2 separate regions of the Homo sapiens genome follow, and region 2 is linked to region 1. Evidence: promoter capture Hi-C in human tissues and cell types (Jung and others, 2019). All regions are on one chromosome and are shown on one strand. The core of a region is centred on a gene start or on the middle of the fragment in contact, and the rest is flanking DNA. Distances in the headings are between cores, read along the strand shown.

Region 1 (5,965 bases), core at 2,833-5,332:
TGTCATCGTTGCCCTCCAGCTCGGCCGCCTCGATCTCATCCAGCAGCACCGTGGGCAGCACTGGCCGGGGCAGGCGGTACGGTCAGAACGGGGCCAGGGCAGGGTCACCCCAAAGCCTCGGGACACCGGGAAGACCACGAGGAACCCAGAGCTCTCAGGGTCGGCCCTGCCAGGGACCAGCGATCCACCCTCAGCAAAGTTCCCACAGCGGACAAGCACCCCACCAGATGGTCCCCTTAATACAACAGGCTGCCCCACAGGCCTCAGCACTAGCCCACCAGCCACTCCAGTCCTGGCTCCGCTGTGTCCCACACGACTACCCCAAAGGCTACAGACATTTCCCAGCAAGCCAGGCCACCTGCAGCTTTACTTTCCACTGAATCGTGGCTCCGTCTGGCGGCTTCTTTCTCACTGTGGACCGCAGCACAGTGGCCCTCTCTCCGCACCCACCCCAGCTCCAGTCTCCAGCATGCCCTTCTTCCCACTTTTCCTCCCTCTTTCCATGGGTGCTCGGCTCACAACCTTCCTCCAGACGAGTGCCTGACCCTCCCACATCCTCTGAGGAGCACCAGGGCCAGCACACACCTTTCCTATCGTCGTGTTTGCCACTGTTGGATCGGAGGTTTTCTCATTTTCATTCTGATTCTTCTCTGTCCCAACAGTTTTTTAGGACTGTGTTTTTAAATATCCACAAACGGCCAGGTGCAGTGGCTAGCACCTGTAATCCCACCACTTTGGGAGGCTGAGGCAGGTGGATCACCTGAGGTCAGGAAATCGAGACCAGCCTGGCCAATACAGTGAAACCCTGTCTCTACTAGAAATACACAAATTAGCCAGGCGTGGTGGTGCATGCCTGTAATCCCAGCTGCTTGGGAGGCTAAGGCAGGAGAATCATGTGAACCCGGGAGGCGGAGGCTGAAGTGAGCCGAGATCGTGCCACTGCATTCCAGCCTGGGGAACACAGCGAGACTCTGTCTCAAAAAAAAATAAATAAATAAATAAATAATAAATAATAAGTAAATACATATCCACACACATGTGGACAGAGGCATTGTGATCTACCTTAACTGCGCCCGGGACAGAGACTTGGAATAAATTTCCTGATGCCGAGACAAGCTGGGGGACAAGTGGGCTGCCAGCATGGAGGGACAGCCTGGGACATTTACCACAAATGGCTGGATGCAGCCATCTCTCTGTTTTGCTGAGAATAATACTATAAAGTGATCTACCACTCAGAATACGCTTTTCATAACCACGTCTCCTCTCATCTTCAAAACCTCCTTTCTACAGGAGGTAGTGCTAAAGATAAATAAAGCACCGAGCCGCCGGCGGCCGAGAGCCCGGGCCAGGATGAGGCCTGTGGTCTCTGTCTTCAATCCCCACCGGCACCAGCTGCCCAGGGACACGCCTCATGGGAGGTCTGAGGCTCGACCTCCTAAAGCAGTCCCCCAGCTGTGCCATCCTGGGCCGTTTGCCCCCAGGGCTCCCTGATGCCAACTGAGTCCAGCACAAACACTGCCCACAGCGCCCAGCCTCAGCTCTCATGAGCGTGTGCTGCCCAGGCCAGGCCAGGCCTCCATTCCCTGGGCACAGTCCATTCTCTGCTTGGCATCTCCCTTTCCTGCCTGCCCCGGTTTCATCGCCTGTGCTTCCAGGCCCAAGCCCATACTGCAACTCCCTGCCAGGCCTCCTCCCTTCCAGGGCCGTCGGGGACTCACTCACAGGCTTGCACTGCAGCAGCCTGGTCCCTCCCTGAGGGCAAGGCCACAGCCCACAAGTCCCCTGGGTCCTGTCTGGCACAAAACTCAGTAACCAGAGGTGGCGCGGCTTGAACAGACACCTCACTACCAAAGTCATCAGGACACTTGTTCTTTTTGACTCCTACAAAGAAATTACCCAAAAGAGATGCTCCCACAGAAACAAAACACTGCAGACCATGAGGCTTGCTGGGGCTGGTGCGATAGCTGCCAGAGCGACTCCCAGGGAGTCACGGAGCCTTGAGAAATGGTCGTTGGGAAAATGGCGCAGAGGGGCAGGGGCGATTCTAGGCACACAGTTAAAGGCATTTCTGCGAGAACGGGACAGTGGTGAAGCTTACATTCCCCCGTTGATGTCCTTACTGTTCTGCTGCTTTTCAACTGAAAACAGGGAGGGGATCAACTCTTCTCTGTTGGTAACCAGGAGGGAAGGAGGAACCAAGTACACATCGCCTCCGCTCAGGTTGAGAGAGGAACGCACCAGGATGGGCAACCTTGAGAACAGACACCTGGGGTGTCGTCACGCCCGGTTTACCCCCAGGGCTCAGACAGTGCCCGTCACAAAGGGGGCGTCCAACAGACACATGAGACAAACAACTCAATAAGGGAGTGACCCGGTTCTCAAAGGGCAGCCACTGGCAGTGCAGGACGCAGATGCACACACGGGATAAGGGCATCTACGTGAGAAGCACTTCCAAGAACAAGCCACAAACATCCGCTCTCCCAAAGGACCTCGGCCATACGGGCAGCACTAGGCCTGGAGGGGGCCTTCCCTGAACACCTGATGGACGGCATGAGCTGAGGGGTGTTCTCGGGGGATGTCCACAGACTCATTACCTTCAATTGGCACCACAGATGGCTCTTTAATCGACGGAGAAATGGCTCGTTTTTCTGCCACTGCAGCCTCAGCCAGGCGCCCCAGGGCACTCAGAGGGGGTGTGGAGGAGAGTTTGGGGCGTTTGGTGAGACCGGTGAGGGCCGAGGCACTGGACAACGCGGCCGCCGCATCCCGCTTGCGCTCAGAAGGCAGGCCGGAAGGGGCTGGCTTCAGCAGGGTGGACGCCGTTTTCGATTCATTGGCCTGACCCTTTGAGCCCAGAGCAATGAAGTCTCCTGGGGGAGGGTGCCCTGCAGAGAAAGGAGAGAGAAAACCGGGCACATTTGCAACACCCAAGATGGAAAAAGACTGACTCTAACCTCCTGTTATGTCAGAGGGGATTAAACAAGGGTCAGAGGAGGCAAGGAAGAAGCCAGAGCTCACTCAGCAGCCTACAGCAGAGCTGGGACCAGCAGGATACGCACAGGTGATGGTGGACAGTCACGTAGCGCTAACCACAAACCAGGCCATCTCTGGTCTATCCAAATTAGTGTGCTTAGTAACCCCCGCCCCGAGTTTCCGCAATAGGTGCTATTACTCTAACTTTACAAGAGAGAAAGGGACACAGAGAGGTTAAGCGACGTGCCCAGCGTCACACAGCAGGCGAGTGGCAAAGTCCGGAGGATCTGAGCCGACAGTTCAGCCGCAGACCCCGTGCTACGCTACACTGTGCTGCCTCCCGCCTCCTGGCTGGGGAGACCTTCCGCTACTGTCGGCCGCCTTGCAGCTCAGCCTGAAACGAGATCACCGGGGTCCCGAAGGAAGTCGCCACTGTCCCAAGCCTCCCAGGGACTCTCAGAGCCGCTGAGGACCGAGAGCAGTGTTTCCAGACCGAATTCCTGGAAACAGCCGCGGCTGCGGAACAACCAAGCCCAACGCAGGATCCGCGGCAGCTGAGATCCCCAAAGACCCCCAAAGACCCCCAAAGACCCCCGGGCTGCAGAGCGAGGAGGGAGACGCACCTGAGGGTTTGGCCGCGGCGCTGGGCCGGCGCACCGTGGTGGGCTTGGCCCGGTTCATCCTGCCCCGTCCCTCGCGGCTCCCGGCGGCTGCGGCGTCACCTGCGGAGGAGCCAGCGTGCGGTCATTCCTTCACTCATTCGCTCGTTCGCTCGCTCATTCGCTCCCTTGCCGCACGGGGCTTGGGCCTGGGACCCGGGGACAGTGGTCCCGCGCCCGCCCGGCGGGGCGATGCTGCAGGAGCTGCAGGGACCCCGCCTCCCAGCCGCCCGGGAGCGGCTCAGTCGGGCGGCAGCAGGCGACGCGGACGCCGGGCTGGAGGCGGCAGAACCAGAAGGGACGGCCCAGAGGCCGGGAGCGGTAGCCGGGAGAACCAGGCGCTCGCCCGGCAATGAGGAAGCGCCCAGGCCGCGGCTCACTTACCTCTGGCCCATCGCGACCGGAGCGCCGCCGCCGCCACCCGGCCACCCCGGAATCGGAAACCGATCTCACCGCCCTCGAGGACCCGACTTCCGGAACAACCGGAAGGAAAACAGTGCGGCGGGAAGCGGGCCCAGAAGGAGGCGCGAGAGGCCCGCGGCGCCGGCCTGATGCCTGCAGCGCCCCATGGCGGCGGGAGGCGGGCTGGCCGGCGCCGCGCGCATGTGGTCCGGTCCAGGTGGGTCGGCGGCGCGGGGCAGGCGCTGGCCTCTCCATTCACAGGTGGTGCTGGCGTTGCGAAGGGACGCACTCCAGGACGCACGGCGGGGAGGAGTGGCGTCAGGGATCCGCGGATGAGTCAAGTGGCAGGTTCTGCACGTCCCGGAGAGCGGGGGCGGCCGGGGCGCAGGCACTGGCGAGGGGGCGCAGCCCGGGGGGCTCCCGGGGAGAGACCCTGTCTCAAATAATAATAATAATAATAATAATAGCTTTATTGAGATAGAACTCGTGTTCCACAAAGTTCACCCTTTTCTTTTTTCTTTTTTTTTTTGGCACGGAGTCTCGCTCTGTCGCCCAGGCTGGAATGCAGTGGCGCGACCTCGGCTTATTGCAACCTCCACCTCCCAGGTTCAAGCGATTCTCCTGCCTCAGTCTCCCGAGTAGCTGGGATTACAGGCGCCCGCCACCATGTCTGGCTAATTTTTTTGTGTTTTTAGTAGAGACGGGGTTTCACCATGTTGGCCAGGCTGGTCTCGAACTCCTGACCTCAGGTGGTCCGCCCGCCTTGGCCTCCCAAAGTGCTGGAATTACTGCGCCCGCCCCGCCCCCACGCCTTTTTTTTTTTTTTTTTAATGGAAACACTGATGGGAACAAAACTCAAAAGACACAAAAGATCATACAGTTGCCAGGTGTGATGCTCATGCCTGTAATCTCAGCACTTTGGGAGACCAAGGCAGGAGGATCGGTTGAGTTCGAGACCAGCCTGAGCAACATAGCAAGACCCCCATCTCTACAAAAAAATAAAAATTAGCTGGGCATGGTGGCATGAACCTCTAATCCCAGCCCTTTGGGAGGCCAAAGTGGGAGTCTGAGACCAGCCTGGGCAACATAGTGAGACCCTATCTCTACAAACAAAAATCAAGAATAAATTAGCCAGGCATGGTGGTGCATGCCTACGGTCCCAGCTACTGAGGAGGCTGAGGTAGGAGGATCTCTTCAGCTTGGGAGGTCAAGGCTGCAGTAAGCTATGATGGTGCCACTACGCTGCAGCCGGCCGACAGAGCGAGACCCTGTCTAAAAAAAAATAAAAATAAAAGGTGGGGGAATCATCCAGTCAAAGGGTCGAAGGTCTCCCCTGACCCCTGAGCAGCTGGTCCCCTCCCCTGGAGTCAGCCTGTGTTCTGATTTGTGCCTGTGTTCCCGGCTTTTCCGTGTGCGTTCAGGCAGCCACCCGTGTGCCTCCCTCTGCCTTGTCACCCTGCAGGTAGCGCACGGCTCCTCTTTTCTGCACCTGGCTTTTGCCACTTAACCACATCTTGGAGATCTGTTCCCAGCAGGGCACTGACTCGAACGCTGCCCCGCCACCGAGGGAGTCCTGAGCACCGCCTGCCCGGTGTGTCCCATCTCCTCATCCAGGGACCGCAAGGCAGAGCTGGTCTCCCTGTGCCCCTGAAGTTGGGTGTGGCCATTTGACTGTGGCCTCAGTGAGGCTCATGGCCCCAGGCTGCAGCCTGAGAACTGCTGTGTGACCCGCCACGGTCTCTTTCCACTCCTGTGGGCACCAGCTGGGTCCCCGCAGGACCCCAAGGGCTCCAGGGCCCTGCACCCTGCGCTGTGTGGGCAGCGAGTCCGGAAGGAGACGTCCGTGGTGCCCATGGGAGGAGAGGCCGGTCAGGCGCGGATCCCTGCCGGACGCCAGGCGGGGGCTGTGCGGCTTCATCCCTCTACAGTTT
Region 2 (5,345 bases), core at 1-2,500, 1.0 Mb after region 1:
ACTATGTCCCAAAACCTGTTCCAGGTCTGAATGACACCAGGTCGCTGCTGTCTTGCGGCTGACATTCAGGTAGAGGTAAGGAGAGGGGCTCCAAGGGCACTTAAAGAATTTAAAATGCCATCTCAGGCGTGAACATAACTCCGAGGGGGGCAGTTTAGCCACGGTGGTGGCGGTGGTGGTCGTGGTGGTCGCAGAGACCCTGCTTAGGAGGGCACGGGAAGACAGCGCAGCCACGGGCAGAGCCGCCTCCGTCCACGCTTCCGGAGGACGTGGCGGGCAGGGGGCTCACACCCTGCTCAGGCGACCCTTGGCCACTTCCGGGCCCCTCGCCCCTCACCCTCGGCTGCCGGCGCGCATTCCTGCCGCCCCCGCTCGTGCGAGGGGCGGGCCCGGGCCCGTGGGAAGGGCCGGGGATGGGGGCCGTGTGCCGGGGAGGCGGGGTGGGGAGGGCGCACAGCTGGGCCGCATCTGGCCCGAGCGCAAGGAGACCAAATGGGACAGAAGGCGGCCTTTCATCCGGCGAGGGAAGTGGCGGCCTTCGTTTCTCCTCGCCATGGGGCGCCTGAGGATTTCGGGGAGCCAACCCTCCCGACGGAGGGCCAGGATCGAGGAAATCAGCCAGGGAGGAAGGAGTGGAATTTGGTTCTGGTGCTTTCTCGTTAGAACCTCGTGTCCCCACCTGCGGCACAGGTGGCCAAGCTCTTGCTCTGTACAAATAACGGCTCCCCTGAACCGAGCGCTCGGGAAGACCCAGGCGCCACCCCAGTTTGCAAGGCCTGCCGCGTCCCAAGGGGAGGAAGCCGTGCTCAGGAGGGGAAGCGCACAGCGAGGAAGTAGGATGTCCCCCGCGGTGCGTCGGAGCCCAGAGCCCGGGTCTCAGCACCCTGCCCGCTGCGCCGAGGGCGCGCCCCTCCCGTGCCGGGACGCCCGGTGCATCCCCGGACGGCGCTGGCCAGGCTGGGTTTCCTCTTCAGGGACACCGGCGCGGGCCGGGCCCGTCCCCAAGCCCCTCGGCGGCCCGCAGGGGCTACCCGGGGCGGGGGGGGTGCGGGGCGTGCACGTGCGCGCCGGGGGCGGGGCCGCTGCGCCCTCTGGGCAGTTCCCAGCCCCCAGCCGCGGCCCCACGTGGGTCTGCGGGCGTGGAGCGGCGACCGGCGCGAGGCCCCGCCCCCGAGCCCGGGAGCCAATGAGCGCACGGGGGCGGGACCGGGGCGGGGAGGTTTAAGAGCGCGGGACACTGGTGCTGCGCTGCTGGACTGCGCCGCCGGAGCGACGGGCTTCGGGTCGGTGCAAGGCAGGCGCACGGGGAAGGGCGCGCCGCGCGGCCGCCACCCCACCATGCTCAAGCGCTGCGGCCGGCGCCTGCTGCTGGCGCTGGCGGGCGCGCTGCTCGCCTGCCTGCTGGTGCTCACCGCCGACCCGCCGCCGCCTCCACTGCCCGCCGAGCGCGGCCGGCGCGCGCTGCGCAGCCTGGCGGGCCCCGCGGGGGCTGCCCCGGCGCCCGGGCTGGGGGCGGCGGCGGCGGCGCCCGGGGCGCTGGTCCGCGACGTGCACAGTCTGTCCGAGTACTTCAGCCTGCTCACCCGCGCGCGCAGAGATGCGGGCCCGCCGCCCGGGGCTGCCCCCCGCCCCGCCGACGGCCACCCGCGCCCCCTGGCCGAGCCGCTCGCGCCCCGAGACGTCTTCATCGCTGTCAAGACCACCAAAAAGTTCCACCGCGCGCGCCTCGACCTGCTGCTGGAGACCTGGATCTCGCGCCACAAGGAGATGGTGAGCCCCCCGCGGCCTGGACTGGCGGGCGAGCGGGGCGGGGACCCACCATCTGGTCCAGCTGGTGGCAGTGTCCCATGGGAGTCAGGCTGCATCCCCATCCAGCCACTAGGGCCATCTGTGGGCGACGCCAGTGCACCCCGGTGCACCCAGTTTGCCTGCTGGGGCCACTCTCCCGTTACAGTTGTGTTACTGTCCCCGGGGCCCCGCCTCCTGTCCAGCTCCAGAGTCCTGGATGGCTGCAGGACCCTACACCAGTCTCCAGTGCTTGGGGTTGGTGCCCTGTGATACTTCTCACCCCGTAAACATTGGAGCGCATTCATAGGGCATTATGTCCTCAAACTTCCACAAGCAAATTCTGTTCGGACCCACCCTCAGCTCAGACCCCTTCCTGGGGAGAAAGGCTCTTCCTTTAGAGAAGTGAGGGGTTCTGACCTCTGGGCCCTTTCCTCATCACAGTGTTAAGGTACGGGGAGGGAGGGAAGTCATTGCTGGTTGGTGGGTCCTGGGGAGTACATCTCAAAGAACTCCAGGTTTTGGGGTCTGTGTGGGGACCCTCCCCGCACAGTGCAGTAGTCTCTGAGGCCTGCAACCTTGGGCACAGCCCACTTCAGTTGGGCATCAGCTTCTTACACACACATAATTAAGACACACCCCACTTTGAACATTTCCCTCGAGGCCACAGCAGGACGGTTGGGCTGGGGCGGGATGGGGACAGTGTGTGGGGCTTGCAGTCGGGGACTGGGGGGGTGTCTCTGGGCTGGGAGATGCAGAGGCATTTGCTGTGAGGGTGGGGGCTCAGGGAAGACCCTGCACGCCTTCCTCCCTGCTCAAACCCCGGAGACCCAGGGCCTTCTGACCTGGCGCTGTCCTGTTTTGGGGCACTGTGGGTGGGTGGGAGCAGGGCTTGGTGAGGTCATGAGGGCGACGGGGAGGGGCAGGGTCCTCCCTGGTCCTGGCGTGGGGAAGGGGCCCTGGGAACCCCATGGCAGCCTCCTGGGAACACAGCGTCCCATTCCCAGGGGCTCAGCGGGCTGGCGGGAGGGGGCGGCGGGGGCCGTGGGTTTTGTTTGGCGGCCGGGCCGTTAGGATTCCCAGCGCCGGGCGGCTCTCACGCCGGCCCCTTGGGCAAGGTAACAAAGCCCCTTTCTCCAGCGAGAAAGGCGTCGGGCCCCTTGTGTGCAGCTACGCGCTCCGTGGGAACCGCTGCTGGCGTGCTGGCCACTCAGGTTGCCTGGCGATGAGGGGACCAGCGGGCCCCCCCAGCATCTCTTACTGACAGTCCTTTTGGGGCACCATCCCTGAGCCTGGCCCCCCCACCCCCAGCACTCAAGCCTTACTGCTATGTGATCTTGGGCATCCTTCAGCCCCACTCTGGGCTACCACCAGCTCTGAGCACCTCTCATCTTGGAATTTGGGGCCTTTCTCCAACAGAGGGGATGTGGTCAGAGGGCTGGGCTGTGTGATCCTGAGCAAGACCTGGGGCCTCTCAGACCCTCACTCTGATCTCTGAAATGGGGGAACATGGTCCTTCCAGGAGCACGTTGTAAGAGACTGGCAAAGCCTGCAGGCATGGGGTGAACCCGGCGGGCACTCAGGGTCGAGGTGGGGGCCATCACTCCCTTGAGCCCTGAGGTCCCTACTGGAGGGTCACCCCACCAGGGGACAGGTTGAATCTGCCCTCAGCATCAGTTCACCAGCACACAGCAAGCAAAGACCCCCTTGTGGTGGGTGATGGGCAGGGGTCCTGGAAACCCACAGAAGAGGGCCCCCCTCTCCCAGCCCTGCACGGAATGACTCAGACATGGTCTGATGGGGGAGATAGAAAGATGTCAGGGCTGTGCGGGGGGAAAACCCCGAGAGGCTGTGTGAGGCAACAGTGGGCATCTGACCCACATGCTGGGGGAAGGGAGGGAGGAGGGAAGACTTCCTGGAGGAGGCGCCATTTGAGCTAGACTAAGAGTAAAAAAGTGCCCAGAAAGGGCACTCCATCCGGGCATGGTGATGACCACAGCATGGGGGTTGTGCAGGAAACTTCTAGCAACTGGAGTGGTGGCTGGGGGGAGGGTCGGTTGGTCAGCAGGGGCCGCGCTGAGATGGGCCTGGAGTCCAGGATGAAGAGCCTGGCCTTTGGCCCAGAGGTTCCCCGCCCCTCCCAGGAGCAGCCAGGCTGCCGCGCTGCCACCACAGCGGCCACAATTGCTGGGGAGAACTTGGCATCCTGTGTTTCTTTGAATCGCGGCTCCAGGAACAATGCTGCTTCCTGTGGGTGTCCCCCGGCCCCCGCCCCCGTCCACCCTCATCCACCCGGCTCTTCCTCCTGCAGCCCCGTCTTCGTCTGGAAAGTTAGGTGGCACTGGGGGGTCTGGGTCCCTAGAAGGCAGGGACTGGGCTGGTCTAGCACCGCCTCGGCCCCAGGGTATGACCTCAGGCTGGTGCCTGCACCTCTCTGGGCCTCAGTTTCCCCACTTGGGCCTCAGCTGGTAATGGCACCCACCTCCGAGGGCTGTCAGGGAGAGGAAGGGAGAGAATCTGTCTTTGCACTTTGTTCTCTGCCCAGGGGAGCTCTGTTATGCCCATTTTACTGAAGACGAGACTGAGGCTCTGAGCGGCAGGTGAGGCCTATAGCCCAGCAGCGCCTTTTTCCTCCCCTCCTGGTGGCTCAGGTGTCGGGAGACAGTTCGACCGGCACCCCCGCACCCCATAGCCCCGCCTTCTCAGATGCTGTTCTAGAGGCCTCCCTGCTCCCTGAGCTGAACAAAGGTGACTTTAATCTCCGTAGCCTTGGGCTGGGTTTTTAGGGCACCACCAAATCTCGGGAGAACAGGCCTCCCTTGATCTCATTAAGAAAGCATTTTCCTTTTAACCCAGCGGCGCAGTGGAGCGTCTGCAGGGGCTGGCCCTCCGCCTCCCACGGCATTCCTGGGCTGAGATTCTGGGGAGGCCAAGGGGCTGGGTGCGAGTCTGTGCGTGTGGCTGCCCTGGGGTGTCTATGGGTGCTGCAGGAGGGGTGCATGCATGGAGAGGCGGAGACCCAGCCTGCCACCCCCTTAGCTCTGGGCCTCACCCTAGTGAGCATGTGCCCAGGGCTGGGTCAGGCTGGATAAGGATCTGAGACTACCAAGGTGTTCCAGGGCCTCTGCGGGACCTGTGTGTACAGGGAAGGAAACTGAGGCTGGGTGGGCATCAGGGGGTTGTCCCTTGGTCAGAGCATTGCCCGTACACCCTGGGTTTTGCACTCAGCCATGCCAGGGTGCGCCGGGCGGCACGCGCTGGGCGGGCCGGGCAGAGGAAGGAACATTCCTCCCCGTGTGCCGGCAGGCCCAGGCGGGCGCCGGCGACTCCTGGCCCCGCCCTGGCGGCCCCCTCCTCTTCCGCAGAGCGCTCCTGGCAGGGGGCGGCCGCGTGCTGGCACAGGTGGGCTGTGGCCTTGGGCAAGCCTGGGTTTCCTTGCCTGAGCAGTGGGAGGGGTGCTGGGCTGCATGGGTACTGGGGGCCCCTGACCTGGGGGCTGGGGACACCTGAGGTTTCCTGCCACAACCCTGCTGACCGTTGGCAACTTTGCAGAACTTCAG

Evidence for each region. The method cuts DNA at HindIII sites, captures the fragments that hold promoters and counts their contacts. A contact is called where the count stands out against the background at its distance.
Region 2: a contact is called between the fragment with the promoter of LFNG here and the fragment with the promoter of INTS1 in region 1, in 1 of the 25 tissues and cell types used here (lymphoblastoid cells).

The regions. Positions count from the first base shown.
Region 1 is chr7:1,500,307-1,506,271 of GRCh38, forward strand. It overlaps INTS1 (integrator complex subunit 1), which reads right to left and starts at 4,083. Exons shown (of 48, transcript NM_001080453.3): 1 at 4,017-4,083; 2 at 3,597-3,695; 3 at 2,595-2,885; 4 at 1-60. The coding sequence starts at 3,654. RefSeq lists a silencer at 3,729-4,288 and enhancers at 5,175-5,771, 5,397-5,586, 5,772-5,965. The HindIII fragment of the contact is 17,901 bases long and covers 1-5,965 here.
Region 2 is chr7:2,518,524-2,523,868 of GRCh38, forward strand. It overlaps LFNG (LFNG O-fucosylpeptide 3-beta-N-acetylglucosaminyltransferase), which reads left to right and starts at 1,251. Exons shown (of 8, transcript NM_001040167.2): 1 at 1,251-1,770. The coding sequence starts at 1,339. RefSeq lists silencers at 777-1,306, 1,317-1,426 and enhancers at 3,358-3,487, 3,528-3,587, 4,454-4,966. The HindIII fragment of the contact is 23,923 bases long and covers 1-5,345 here.